Regions from separate parts of the Homo sapiens genome. Here regions 2, 3, 4 and 5 are each linked to region 1. Evidence: promoter capture Hi-C in 16 types of primary human blood cells and fetal thymus (Javierre and others, 2016). All regions are on one chromosome and are shown on one strand. Each heading gives the region's core, a stretch centred on a gene start or on the middle of the fragment in contact. The rest is flanking DNA. Distances are from core to core; before and after follow the strand shown.

Region 1 (2,591 bases), core at 62-2,561:
ATCTCAATGTTTTTGAGCTAGTTTCTCACGCATTTTAGTGAAAAGAAAACCTAGTAAGTAGTCTGGTCCCACTTGATCCAGAACCAGGAAAATGGCACCAGGATCACAGTGGGAAGCTCTCACTTTGCCCACTTCAAATGGAAACAGGACGCTGTAAGTGGGAAAAGTAAAACATGAACTTGGAGGAACAAGAGGACTACAGACACTCGAAACAGGAACCTCGGAGAAAAGAAATAGGAGACACCGGTATATAGGAGTTTAGGCCAAAGGTTGAGTATTACAAAACCAAACAAAGATGACACCCGAAAAGTTTTAAGTGTGTATGTACTTAAACCCTTTAGAAACAGAGGGGCAGTAAGGACCTGAAGGGAGGAGACAGCAAGGGGACTGTTGGGACACTTCAGTTAGAGAAGTAGGAAACAAGATACTAGGTCGAAATGGTTCATTCGGGGGAGTGTGCTAAAGGCAGCTAGGACAACAAAAATCTGCTGTACAGTTTTAAAACTCAGGAGTCAATATTCTAGGTCATCCTGGCCCTGTTTACACACAGACACAAACACTGGTTTCCAGCGGGAACAATCAGTCATATATTGGAGGCGCTAAAATCAGTCGGGTGGGATATAAACGGAATAGGTCAGAGGGGAGGACTTAAAAGAGGGAGTCCCCAGGCCCACTGGGACCTAGATATAGATGCAACCCCAGATATGGGGATGGAGGGGATGGGAGGGGAGTGGTTCCCAGCCTGGAGAGAAGGTTCAGTCATTGGGCCTGGAGTCGGGAGTGTCGGGGCAGTGGGAGCAGGTATCTGGGGGTGATCCCAAAGAACTGAGGGTGGTGGAGGCTGCTGTGGCTTCCCAGCAAGAAGCCAAATCACAGGGGTCGCTGTCACCCGCGATCGCGGCACGTTCCCGGCCTGGGCTGCCGTACCCTCCAAGGTGACTGTGTCCAGCTCTCGCTGGGAGTGCTCAGCCGCTGCCGCCGCCGTCTTGCCGTCTGCCTCCCCCGTCGACCCGCCACCCGTCGCTGCCTCCTCTTTCATCTCCACATCCTGGGGGGCCGGCGGCGGTGGGGGTTCTTGTTCTCCTCCGCCGGGCGGCGGTTTCGCCTTGTCCGCGCCGCGGCGCCGCGCCGAGCCCTCCTGCTTCATGGCACCCGGGGTCACGGCCTAGTCCGGGGACCGAGGCCGGGGCCTCGCGTTAACCCTCGCACCGGGGACCAGGAGCCGAGCCGGGCCTGCACACGAGCGCGAGATAGCGTCGGGCCGCACGATGACGGAGCAGCTGCAAACCCCTTCCCGGCGCTGGGCCTTCTGGGAAACGCCAGGCCCGGCAGGCCGATGGCCGAGTCAACAAAGGGGAAATAAATCCACAGCCGAGGTGCAGGATGAAGGAGGAGCTTCGAGGAAGGAGCGGGGAGGAGCCTTTATGGGTTCGTGGGGCTTTCTTTCGAGCGCTTAAGTGTGATGCTTTTATGTTCCTCTCGAGTGCATTTCTGTGGGCGTCCACGAGAGGTCCCCTCAGGCTCCAATCTGGGTTACAAAGGACTTTAAGAGCGCCTCAACCAGCGTGGAGTGGGTACAGCCTATCCGAGCGCGGGACGAGATGACGTCACGAGTTGCCGGGCGGGTTTTGCGCCCAAGTTCGCTCAATTTTCCCCGGTCGCGGCGGGGTCTCCTTCCAGATCCGCTGGGCTTGTGCTCAACGGCTGCCGGGCGCATCCGGCAGGAGGGAAGGAAAGAAGGCTGTGAAGGAGGGACGTGAAGCTAGGGCTGTTGGCCTTAAAATAAACCGAACTGGAGAGTAGGAAGAACCCTATGGGATCCGGACTTCCTTGGTTAGATTTGAGTTTAGTGCTGAACATAAGGCATACAATTTCTGCAGGCTGGGAGTGCCGATAGGTAGGAGCGTGCATTTGCGTAGAATCACTCCAGTTTAACAAAATATAGGGGTCCACCCTATGTACGGCCCACGGTTAGCAAATAGGGGGGTGAAAAACAGCTCAAGAATGTAGTATACGGGGGAGTCAGATGGTTAGATAAGCAGACACTGTGCTCTGGGCTGCGGTGGATTGGGAGTGTTGAGGAAAGAGGGTGGGAGCCCCTACTGGCAGACGCTTTAGGGAGCCCATTGAGAGGGCTTTTATACATCCAGACAGACATTGTGAAATGGGGAACAGAATAATGGTGTGCCTAAGGAGAGAATGATGGTTTACTTAGTGGTGTACCTAAGGGGAAGCAAATTGGACAAGAAACCCTACCCACTTATTTTTCAAAGGACTGCCCCACTGGTTCTGCAGGGAAGGTGAAACAAGGTGAAGGATATAGCTCCCAATTTCTTAGAACACACAACAAAAACTCTCTCCCTACCTTGAAACTTTTCTCTCTCCCATAAGTGGAAGTCCTGAGTTTTAGACCTTTCACGGACCCTACAAGACAATCTAGCCCTGTTGTAAGGACCTAGAAGGCAGGAAATATGTTTTGACCTCCTCCTTTGCATATATAAAGGGTATCCTGCATATCTTTTGCATCCTCTTTCATAGGATTGCAGGATGTTCCTTGCGTTAAACAGCCACTCGCTAACTGGAAAGATATG
Region 2 (2,591 bases), core at 50-2,549, 440 kb after region 1:
TTCTGAATAAGTCCACTTTCTCCGATTATTTCTTTCCTTTGGTTTCCTCTTATTATAATAGTTTTATATTACAACCTGCATTGATATGTTGACTTACAGATTCCCCACTCTCCACCAGCTGTAAGACTGACCTCTCTCACAAGACCCAGAAGCTTCCTGAAGGTGGGACCCTCCCCCAGTCTTCTTCCTCAGAGGTTGTCCTGTCTGTACACAGGACATGCCTCTGCTAATGATATTAATGCTCCCCACTGAAGCAGCCCTCATGGTATAACTATTGGGATATTATATCAAACAACCATGAGGAACACAATCTTATTCTGTCAATTTTCAAATTGCCACCTGCCTTGAACTTGGCACTGAATCTCCCCAAGATTACAAATTCAGTTTCATGACTTCAAAGTGTTACAAAACAAAACAAAAAAACAAGTACAGTCACCAAAGGAATTTATCTCCTTCATTCATGGTAGATAAATACTATTCTCTTTGAAGACATTTTAGGATGAGAAGCTCCATTTTGTTTCCTATTTGTACAATTAATCCCACATTCTCAGGTCATGACTTGATTTTCCAAAATGAAAATCAATTCCAGAGCCAAGAGTAATCTTGGTCCCTATCAGTCCTAACTCTTATCAACATGTTTTGGAAGGTCTCTAGGAATGGAGAAGTTATTTATGAGTCGCTTTCAACAGTTTGGCAAATACTTCCTTAGATTAACCTCACTCTCAAATGCTGACTCTTTACTTCCTCTAGTTTAGCCCTGTGTGGTTAGAGAGAAAAACGTGGTCTACCACTCCCTTTTATCTCCTACATATTGCTCAGGATACTAGCCTTATGTATGTATGTATGTATGTATGTATGTATGTATGTATGTATGTATGTATTTATTTGAGATGGAGTCTCATTCTGTCGCCTAGGCTGGAGTGAAGTGGCGCAATCTTCACTCACTGCAACCTCCACCTCCTGGGTTCAAGCAAATTCTCCTGCCTCAGCCTCCCGGGAAGCTGGGACTACAGGCTTGTGCCACCACGCCTGGCTAATTTTTTGTATTTTTAGTAGAGATGGGGTTTCACCGTGTAAGCCAGAATGGTCTCGATCTCCTGACCTCGTGATCCACCCACCTTGGCCTCCCAAAGTGCTGGGATTACAGGCGTGAGCCACCGCTCCCAGGTAGCCGGGGTTTGCCATTTATTCATTCTATCCCTTAGCCTCAAGGTGCTAATCAATCAAGATAAAAACAAAGCACTTAGGCAGCGCCTGACACATAGCAGGTACCCAACAATGTTAGTTCCCTTTCTCTCCCTTCTTTCTCGCAACACCATACATGTTCCTCGGCCTTTCTGGGCATTTTTTACTGGTTAAAGATGGTACTGAACCAAACAAACTAATCTTCTTTTGTAGCTCTAACATTCTGTGACTCTAATTCGCATATTCTCGTTTGTTCTTCTATGCACTGCCATCATTTGGATCTAAAATGAGTGGCAGAGGAATACTACTAGTCTCTAGGTTGACTTAGCATACCTAAAACCACTTGCAGGAGTTTTGAAATTCAAACAATACAAATAACTGTTTAATGTGATGCATCCATGTCATTCCTCCTTATTCTTGAATTACTCTCTTGAACTATGTAGATAACAGTGTTAAGTAAATGTCCTTACATATTGCTTAACATATTTGCCCATCTTTTCTAGTTTCCCTACAGAAAATGTCTTCATAGTATCCTAGGGGTTCTTGGCCCATCCTCCAACCCTAAAGGTAAGACTACTGTAATTAAGGGGAATTCTTTACTCAGTATTGGTGCTTTAATGGGGTCTTCCTGAAATGAACTGTGAATCTCTAAGAAAATTATCCTATAAATTTCACTAACTCAACCATAATTTTTCCTTCCATCCTGTATCCCTCTCTTCTTTATAAGCAATTATATCCAAGCTGGGCGCGGTGGCTCACTTTGGGAGGCCGAGCACTTTGGGAGGCCGAGGCGGGTGGATCACAAGGTCAGGAGTTCAAGACCAGCCTGGCCAGCATGGTGAAACCCTGTCACTACTAAAAATACAAAAAATTAGCTGGGCATGGTGGCACGCACCTGTAATCCCAGCTACTTGGGAGGCTGAGACAGGAGAATTGCTGGAACCTGGGAGGTGGAGGCTGCAGTGAGCCGAGATCACACCACTGCACTCCAAGAAGAGCAAGTCCATCTCAAAAATAAATAAATAAATAAATAAATAAATAAATAAATAAATAAAAATAAGGAATTATACCCCAAGTCTCTTTCTGCAGCCCAGCTACCAGACTCTTCTAGTTCTCCCTTCTTACCCTTATTTCCACCTCTTATATTGCTTCATTTTCTGAGACTTTTGGTCCCCTAACAGAAATTATAAATATTAACACTAGTATAAGGCCAAACTAAAAAGTTCCAGACTTTAAAAAAGGGACCAGGCTACTAAGCTTTCTTTAGGTCTTTGAATTCAGCCTGTTTTCTCCAGGTCCAAATGCATTCAAAATTGCATTAGCCTTGGTGAGGAGGGTCATCTACAAGCTGATCCTCACCAAGGGTGTCCCTCATTAGGCACTATTGTAGTTCTGAGACTGAGGAG
Region 3 (2,591 bases), core at 36-2,535, 430 kb before region 1:
AAAGCCCCAACCAACCTCTAGGTTGTATAAACAAGAAAGCTGGGAGCCTTCCTTTATTTCCCCTCCTCTCTAATCCGGTCAATAAGAATCATCTCTTGGATGCTGCAGTAGCTTCTCACCATTATCTCTTTTTTGGTTTACTACAATAGGTTCTTAACCTTCATACTGGTTAAGTCCTTTCCTTGGAATGCTTTTGAGTGACTTTTGTGTTAAAACACCCATTTTTATCTTCACTCTCATTTGAAATCTTTCAATGACTTCCACTCAGGGAAAGTCCAAATTCCATAATTTGGCCAACAAGAAAGATCTGCTGTAATCTAATTACACCTACTTCTCCAACTCATCTCAGTGCCAGTTTTTCGTATATTGTCCTGTTGCTTTTAAATTACTGAAAAGCACAGTGCTCTTCCCCTCCTCAGAGTTTATTCACATGCTAATCCCTCTGCATGAAATACATCCTTTTCACCTGGCTACTTTAGGTCTTGTCCTTTCCTCAGGAAAGCCTTTACTTTCTACCCTTCCCCCCACCTAAGTTGGTTCCAATATAATATTGAACATACCTTATTAGCAAACTTTTTGCTTATCCATAACACTTATAACACTGTAACTTATTTTATTTCTGTCTTTTTTTTTAGGCAGAGTCTCGCTCTGTCGCCCAGGCTGGAATGCAGTGGCACGATCTCGGCTCACTGCAACCTCCGCCTCCTAGGTTTCAGTGATTCTCTTGCCTCAGCCTCCCGAGTAGCTGAGATTACAGGCATGCATCACCATGCCTGGCTAATTTTTTTGTTGTTGTATTTTCAGTAGAGACAGGGTTTCACCATGTTGGTCAGGCTGGTCTCAAACTCCTGACCTCAAATGATCCACCCATCTCGGCCTTCCAAAGTGTTGGGATTACAGCCATGAGCCACTGTGCCCAGTCTTTTTTTTTTTTTTTTTTGAGACAGAGTCTTGCTGTGTTGCCCAGGCTACAGTGCAGTGACGTAATCCTGGCTCATTGCAATCTCTGCCTCCCAGGTTCAAGCGATTCTCCTTGCCTCCTGAGTAGCTGGGATTCTCCAGCCTCCTGAGTAGCGGGGATTACAGACATGCACCATCACATCCAGCTAATTTTTGTATTTTTAATAGAGATGGGGTTTTACCATGTTGGCCAGGCTGGTCTTGAACTCCTGGCCTCACTTGATCCACCATCCTCGGCCTCCTAAAGTGCTGTGATTACAGGCGTAAGCCACTGCACCCAGCTATGTCTGTCTTCTATGTTGTGTCTTAAACTTGATGAGGACAAGTGTCTCAATTTGTTTTATTTGTGTCTAATTTTATTTATTTATTTTTAATTTTTTTTTTTGGAGACAGCTTCTCACTGTTTCCCAGGCTGGAGTGCCGTGGCTTGATCTCAGTTCACTGCAACCCGCGCCTCCCAGGTTAAAGCAATTCTCCTGCCTCAGCCTCCCAAGCAGCTAGGATTACAGCCATTTCACCACCACCATGCCTGGCTACCCTTTTTTTTTTTTTTTTTTTTTTTTTTGAGACGGAGTTTCACTTTTGTCACCCAGGCTGGAGTGCAATGGTGCGATCTTGGCTCGCTGCAACCTCTACCTCCTGGGTTCAAGCGATTCTCCTGCCTCAGCCTCCCGAGTAGCTGGAATTACAGGTGCCCACCACCACGCCAGCTAATTTTTGTATTTTTAGTAGAGCCGGGGTTTCGCCATGTTGGCCAGGCCGGTCTCAAACTCCTGACCTCAGGTGTTCTGCCCACCTTGGCCTCCTAAAGTGCTGGGATTATAGGCGTGAGCCACCGTGCCTGGTCTAATTTGTTTTAACCACTATATCTCCAACAAGTAGCTCAGTGCTAGCACAATATAATTATATAGTAAATATTTATTGAACGAATGAACCAAAAGGAGCAGCTCCCTCAGTGGTGATAACCTGACATGGGAAGATGTGCCACCCTCTATCCAGAAATTATTGTTCTACATCTTTTTAATTTTTGAATCATTTTTATTTGTATTAAGGCTCATTTGTATTCTAGATTTCTGATAGATCCCTTCTTCCCTAATATGATCCCTAATATGAATCTTCTCGTTTTCAGGCCATTGGCTGTGGTATTGTAGAAAGCATACTAAACTGGGTGAAGTTTAAGGCCCAAGTCCAGTTAAACAAGAAGTGTTCAGCTGTAAAACATAATAGAATCAAGGGAATTCCCAAACTCGATGATGCCAATGATGCAGGTATATATTTAATAATGTTTCCAAACTTTTAAGTCTTATAGTTGTTATTTTATTCATTAATGGCATACCACGGATATTTATTTTTCCCTTGACAGAATAACTATATTCAACAGAATAACTTGTTAAAAATCGGCCCGTTTCCTATTATGGAAGATTTAGGTCATTTCCATGTTATAAATAATATTGAGGTGATTATTTTGGAGTATAAAACAAGAATGTTTATATTATGATCTATTACCTAACAAATAATTTTGCTCATTATATAGTAAATTGTGTTTTATCACAAGGCTATAAACAGCATGTTCAAGTTAGTATATTTGAGGTTGAACTAAATGTGCTAATATTAATATGTATATTTTTATT
Region 4 (2,591 bases), core at 35-2,534, 410 kb after region 1:
GGAAAGAATGGCCTAGAATGCCCCAACTATATTCCTGGACTTTGTGGAGGAGGCCCAATGTAGAGACCAGGAATGATGAAAAAATTTCATTTTACAGAGGAGGAACTTAGGACTCAGAAAGGGAGGTATAACAGGCCAGAGCCACGGGGTAAGTCAGGAAGCTCAGAACTGGGGCCTCTGACTCTCAGTCCAGTGCTCTTCTTCACCTGCATCATGAATCTGAAGGAACATTTTCAGCCACTTGTCCAGTCCCAGGAGAGCCTACAAGGGGCTGGAGTTTTGGGAGGCAGTGGGAGAGTTGCTCCAAGAGGCTTTTCCTGAGGAGAAAGGAACAGAGGGGCTGGGGAGGCTTCTTAACTCCCTCTCCTGCCTCAACACACACATTGACACACAACGGCAGAAATTTTATTTCCAAATGTCCCTTCTCTGGGGAGCTCGCTGTTTCCCAGGAGACGCCGGGTAGAGATGCCCCTTCCTGCCAGCCTCCCTGGCAGCCACTAGGCGGCTGTGGCTTCATCTTTTGCCTGGAGACGCCACAGTGAGGGTCCCACATGGTTTGTATTAATAGGAAGTGGAGCTGAGGGCTATAGGCGCTGAAGATAGGGCAGGCCAGCCAGGGATGGGTGGGCAGACAGGCCAGTGGGTAGACTAAGGCAGCCACACACAGGGCCACACTGAACAAAGGTCCTGGGCAGCTTTGCAAACCTAGATACATGAGCTAACCTGATTCTGGCTACTGGCAAACTGGAAGTATTTTTATTGTGTTTTCCCTTTGAATATAAAGATACTGGATGACTGGTGTAAAAATAGGGAATTCCAACAAAAGGGAATGAACAAAAGCCCCAGACTCAAATTTTAGGATGTCTTTTCCCGTAGGAAATGAATTAGCCTCTGACAGAAGTCTAGGGGAAGAGTCTGCTGTACTCAGGAAGGACAGGAGGAAGCATCATGACACTGTGGAATGCTCTAGAATCTGGGAGGTGTCCCTGCACCGACCCCTAGTATTGGAGAGCCTGCTGTGTGCATTGGTCTGTTGTCCCCAGATCAGTAGTTTCACAGTGGGGTTTTATTTCTTGAGATGGAGTCTCACTCTGTCACCCAGGCTGCAGTGTGCAGTGGCACGATCTCAGCTCTCTGCAACCTCTGCCTCCCGGGTTCAAGTGATTCTCGTGCCTCAGCCTCCTGAGTAGCTGGGATTACAGGTGCGCACCACCATGCCTGGCTACTTTTTGTATTTTTAGTAGAGACGAGGTTTCACCATGTTGGCCAGGCTGGTCTTCAACTCCTGACCTCAGGCGATCTGCCCACCTCGGCCTCCCAAAGTCCTGGGATTACAGGCATTAGCCACCGAGCCCGGCCTCAGTGGAGTTCTTTCCATCCTGTGTTTTTTCCATACTCCCAACCTGCTGGGTGCACCATGCTGCCCTGCTGTTGTCACCCAGTCAATGTGGGTTGCAAGAATAATGAATTTACAGAAGAGGAAACAGGCCCTGAGATAGACACTGAAGTTGCCAGAGAGGCTCAGATCACATTCACAAGCATGACAGGTATACATTAAACGGCCTCAAATTCTCCACCAGTTCCCTCTTTCCCAGGGCTGAGAGGGATCAAAGGTTGGAGTCTATGGAAGAAACTTCCCAGGTCTGGCCCTTGGACAGGACAGGGGCAAGGCACGAGAGGGAGACTGTCAGGGATTGTGGGAAGAGAGGACCCAAGGAGAGAAGGACAGTAGTAGAGAGCCTGGTGTAAACCTAGATATTGAATCCGTGCAATGCCAATGAGGTAAAGAGCAGTTTTGCCCCTCTACTGTGACAATGGGGCGGCTTTGGCTGGAAGGTTTGAGGTAATCTTCCAGTTAAGCAGGGATTTAAGCATATGGAGAAGACTCACCTCCCTCAAGGTATCCACCCAAAACAGCAGCAGGGATAGAGGTCAGCCCCTTATCTCCCTTTCTTCTTTTTGCCAGAGGACTTAAGGTCCTGCCATCTACACATTACATATTATCCCATTTAGTCATTGGCAACTGGCTTATCCCTATTGTATAGATGGATAAGCCATGGCTAAGAAAGGTAAAGCGACTTGCCCAGGCTACAAACCAAGTGGCGGAACTAAGTAGATGCTCCAATCTCAGTTCTGGCCCCAGATGCTCTTTTTTTTTTTTTTTTTTTTTTTTTTTTTTTTTTTTTTTTTTGAGACGGAGTTTTGCTCTTGTTGCCCAGGCTGGAATGCAATGGTGCAATCTTGGCTCATTGCAACCTCTGCCTCCCGGGTTCAAACGATTCTCCTGCCTCAGCCTCCAGAGTAGCTGGGATTACAGGCGCCCGCCACCACGCCCAGCTATTTTTTTTTTTTGTATTTTTAGTAGAGGCGGGGTTTCACCATGTTGGCCAGACTGGTCTCGAACTCCTGACCTCATGATCCGCCCGCCTCGGCCTCCCAAAGTGTTGGGATTACAGGCGGGAGCCACCGCACCCGGCCCAGATGCTCTTTTTAAGGTGTCAGTACTTGGTTTGGGCGTGGGGTGGGCACACCATGCTGGATTCTGGGGAAAAGGTCCTCTCCCTCACACAGACTCCTGGCCTTCCTTTAAG
Region 5 (2,591 bases), core at 29-2,528, 300 kb after region 1:
AGGGGCAGGTGAACGGGCGTGGTGAGAGTCAGTCTACTGGACCTGATGAAGGAAACTGACATTGATGGGCACCTACTATGGACCAGGCAGCAAAACCAGCAGCCATTCAGAGGAGTTCCTTGGTGCCAGGCATTCCGCAGACCTCGTCCTCATGGCCTCCTGTGCAGTGAGCATCATTATGAACCTGTTTTGTAGGTGAGGCAGTGGAGGCTCACACATACTGGGTTATGTGTCCAAGGTCACACAGCTGCGTAGGGGCTGAGGCAGGACTTGAATGCAGACTCTGTCTCATTGTGAAGACTGGACACTCTTCCCCCAGCCTGGAGCTGTGGAGGTGGGCCTAGGCAGCTAGGAGACCACCCCTTATCTGCCTAAACATCCTTGGCCTGCAGGGAGAGTGGGAGGCAGACATCCTCTTAGGCCTCAGTTCTATGGGAAGCTGACGGGGTTCTGTGCTGGTCAGGCAAGTGGAGAGAACACTCATGTTTCAGCCTGTCCTGGGCTCTGTGCTGTACGCTGTATTTGTATTGCTCATTAAACCCTTATCAACTATGATTATTCCCATTTTGCAGATGAGAAAACTGAGGCACAGCAAGGCTAAATAACTTGCCCAAGGACACACAGGAAATGCAGAGCCAGGAACTGAACCCTGGCAGTCTGGCTGTAGGGCTTGCATTCTTAATGATACCACTACCTCCCAAATCTGAGGAAAGGGTGAGAAGAGGAGCACCCCCAGAGTGGGATGCTCCCCAGGGGGGAGGGGCTTTTCAGGGGTGCAGAGGCCAGGCTTCAGGTGGGTCTCTGTGAGTGGAAGGCACCCAGGGAGGCGGTTGGAGAGGGGACCCAGCAGCCCCACCCATCCTGTGGCCCTACGCATATGTTTGCCCGCACACACACCCCCTGCTTTCGGTGTTCTGAGCCACTTAGCTCAGTCCTGCAGTCCTCTTCTCACCTCCCCCTTCCTGCTGTGGGTGACAAGGAGGCCTGGCTGGCTGCCAGTCCCTGCCGCCTTCCTCTTCTCCTTCCCACATTGGCTCCAGGGCCACTCTCCTCCCTAAGGATGTCCCTGTTCCTGGCCTGCCAGGGAGAACTGGTCCATGTGATTGCCTGGGTCCCGTCTCCAGCCCAAGCCTGCTCCTCTCCCCATGCTGACTCTAAGCTTTTCAGACTGTGGGAGCAGTGTCTGAGAAGCCACCAGGTTCAGTCCTGTTGTGCAGCCTCCATGCCTGTCTCTGGGGAGGGGGCTGCAGCAGGGCAGAGCCTTGAGTCTGGTGGAAGGGACAGAGTGGCCATCCTCAAAGGAGGAAGCAGCCTGCCCTAGACCACACCACCTAACGCCAGGCTGGAAAGGAACTGAAGTTTCACTTGAGCCATGATTTGTCCCGGGGGAAGCTTGGGCTGAGAAGGGCAGGGCCCTTTGACCAGGTCAAGAGGAGCAGAAGCAGCAAGGCTCAGCCCAGAGCCCAGGCCAGACAGGGGCACTAGGCAGCCTTGCGCCTTCCAGAGCTTGGCACCCCGAGAACCTGACTGGCTGTGCAGCAGTTCTGCCCCGCCTGTACCCCTTCTCCTCCCATTCTCTCCTGAGCTCCCCAGACCTGCATTTGGAATGCATCTTACTGTCTGACCTGCCTGCTACAGTGCCAGACAGAGTGTAGCTTCTTGCCCCCTCCCTCTGTCCCCTGCCTGGCCAGTTTTCCTGGTACATTGGAGCCAACTGAGCAGTTCCTGGCCTTTCCTCATCTCCGCCAGGCCTGTCCCACCCTAGCGCATCCCTCCCCACCTCCAGGCCATTCCCGGCCTGGCCTGCTGTTCCTTTGGTTGTCACGATTTCCCAGCCCTTCCCTTCAGCCCACCCTGCTTTCAGCAGTTTGGGCCTTTGCTGTGGACACAGCAGTCCCTGAAGAAAGTGCCAGCACCAACGCCCACAAGCTCTTAGGCTCATTCGCTAGATAACTTTTGTGCTCTCTCCACGCAGCTAATTTCCAGGAAGAAGGCCTCAAACATTCCCCTGGGCCCTGGCCCACCACAGCCCCTCCAGTCCTGCCCTCTACTCCTCCCAGGCTCGGGAGCAGCCACTGGTCTGGCGGGTTGGGCAGGCCCAGCCAGGAGGAAGCTGGGCTTGGTTCACCCTCCTCCTGGGAGCCTGTGCCCCAGTGGGATCTGCTTGATCTCCCTCCCCTGCTGCTTGGAACACACCCCAAGCTGGCTCGAGCCCCTCCACCCCACCCACCTCATTCCCGCCCCCAGAGGCTGAGGTCACTGGCTCCCCTGGGCCCGGGTGGGGTGGTGCTGTCAACACCTGCCGGTTGGAGGAGGAGGCAAGGCCCCTGGGGGCTGTTGTCTTAGCAATTGAGTAACTAGGGAGCTTGGCTATACCGGAACTGGTTCCCAGGCCAGGCCGGAACCTGTGGAGGCTGCAGCCCCCCGTGGCCTTGGGGGTTTGGGGTGGCAGGAAGTCCACCCCAGGGACCCTGGCTGGGTGGGGGTAGAGGGACATAGGTTTGTTCAGAGGGCTCCAGGGGCAGGAAAAGCACATTTCTTGTCCTGCAGAGCCCCTTCCCAAAGGTGAAATGGATGTGAGCAAATGGGGG

Evidence for each region. The method cuts DNA at HindIII sites, captures the fragments that hold promoters and counts their contacts. A CHiCAGO score of 5 or more calls a contact.
Region 2: a fragment that was not itself captured here is called in contact with the fragment with the promoter of PSMD3 in region 1 in 3 of 17 cell types (naive B cells, total B cells and naive CD4 T cells); the score reaches 8.6 in naive B cells.
Region 3: a contact is called between a fragment that was not itself captured here and the fragment with the promoter of PSMD3 in region 1, in 1 of 17 cell types (neutrophils). The highest score is 5.2, in neutrophils.
Region 4: a contact is called between a fragment that was not itself captured here and the fragment with the promoter of PSMD3 in region 1, in 1 of 17 cell types (naive B cells). The highest score is 5.3, in naive B cells.
Region 5: a contact is called between a fragment that was not itself captured here and the fragment with the promoter of PSMD3 in region 1, in 2 of 17 cell types (activated CD4 T cells and naive B cells). The highest score is 5.8, in activated CD4 T cells.

Annotation. Positions count from the first base shown.
Region 1 is chr17:39,979,527-39,982,117 of GRCh38, reverse strand. It overlaps PSMD3 (proteasome 26S subunit, non-ATPase 3), which reads right to left and starts at 1,311. Exons shown (of 12, transcript NM_002809.4): 1 at 928-1,311. The coding sequence starts at 1,147. RefSeq lists a silencer at 971-1,020 and enhancers at 423-1,400, 1,201-1,480, 1,701-1,880, 2,302-2,591. The HindIII fragment of the contact is 5,666 bases long and covers 1-2,591 here.
Region 2 is chr17:39,537,195-39,539,785 of GRCh38, reverse strand. It overlaps a transcript of CDK12 not described here. Among named protein-coding and RNA genes, the nearest start is that of NEUROD2, 69 kb to the left of the region's middle. The HindIII fragment of the contact is 2,290 bases long and covers 155-2,444 here.
Region 3 is chr17:40,408,129-40,410,719 of GRCh38, reverse strand. TOP2A (DNA topoisomerase II alpha) reads left to right here. Exons shown (of 35, transcript NM_001067.4): 11 at 2,090-2,228. Among named protein-coding and RNA genes, the nearest start is that of TOP2A, 8.5 kb to the left of the region's middle. The HindIII fragment of the contact is 2,913 bases long and covers 1-2,591 here.
Region 4 is chr17:39,574,301-39,576,891 of GRCh38, reverse strand. No RefSeq gene overlaps it. Among named protein-coding and RNA genes, the nearest start is that of NEUROD2, 32 kb to the left of the region's middle. RefSeq lists an enhancer at 1,762-2,336. The HindIII fragment of the contact is 2,619 bases long and covers 1-2,591 here.
Region 5 is chr17:39,674,737-39,677,327 of GRCh38, reverse strand. The region is part of intron 3 of PGAP3 (post-GPI attachment to proteins phospholipase 3); the gene reads left to right. Among named protein-coding and RNA genes, the nearest start is that of PNMT, 7.6 kb to the right of the region's middle. RefSeq lists a silencer at 777-836 and enhancers at 995-1,540, 1,541-2,086, 1-2,457, 2,087-2,591. The HindIII fragment of the contact is 233 bases long and covers 1,162-1,394 here.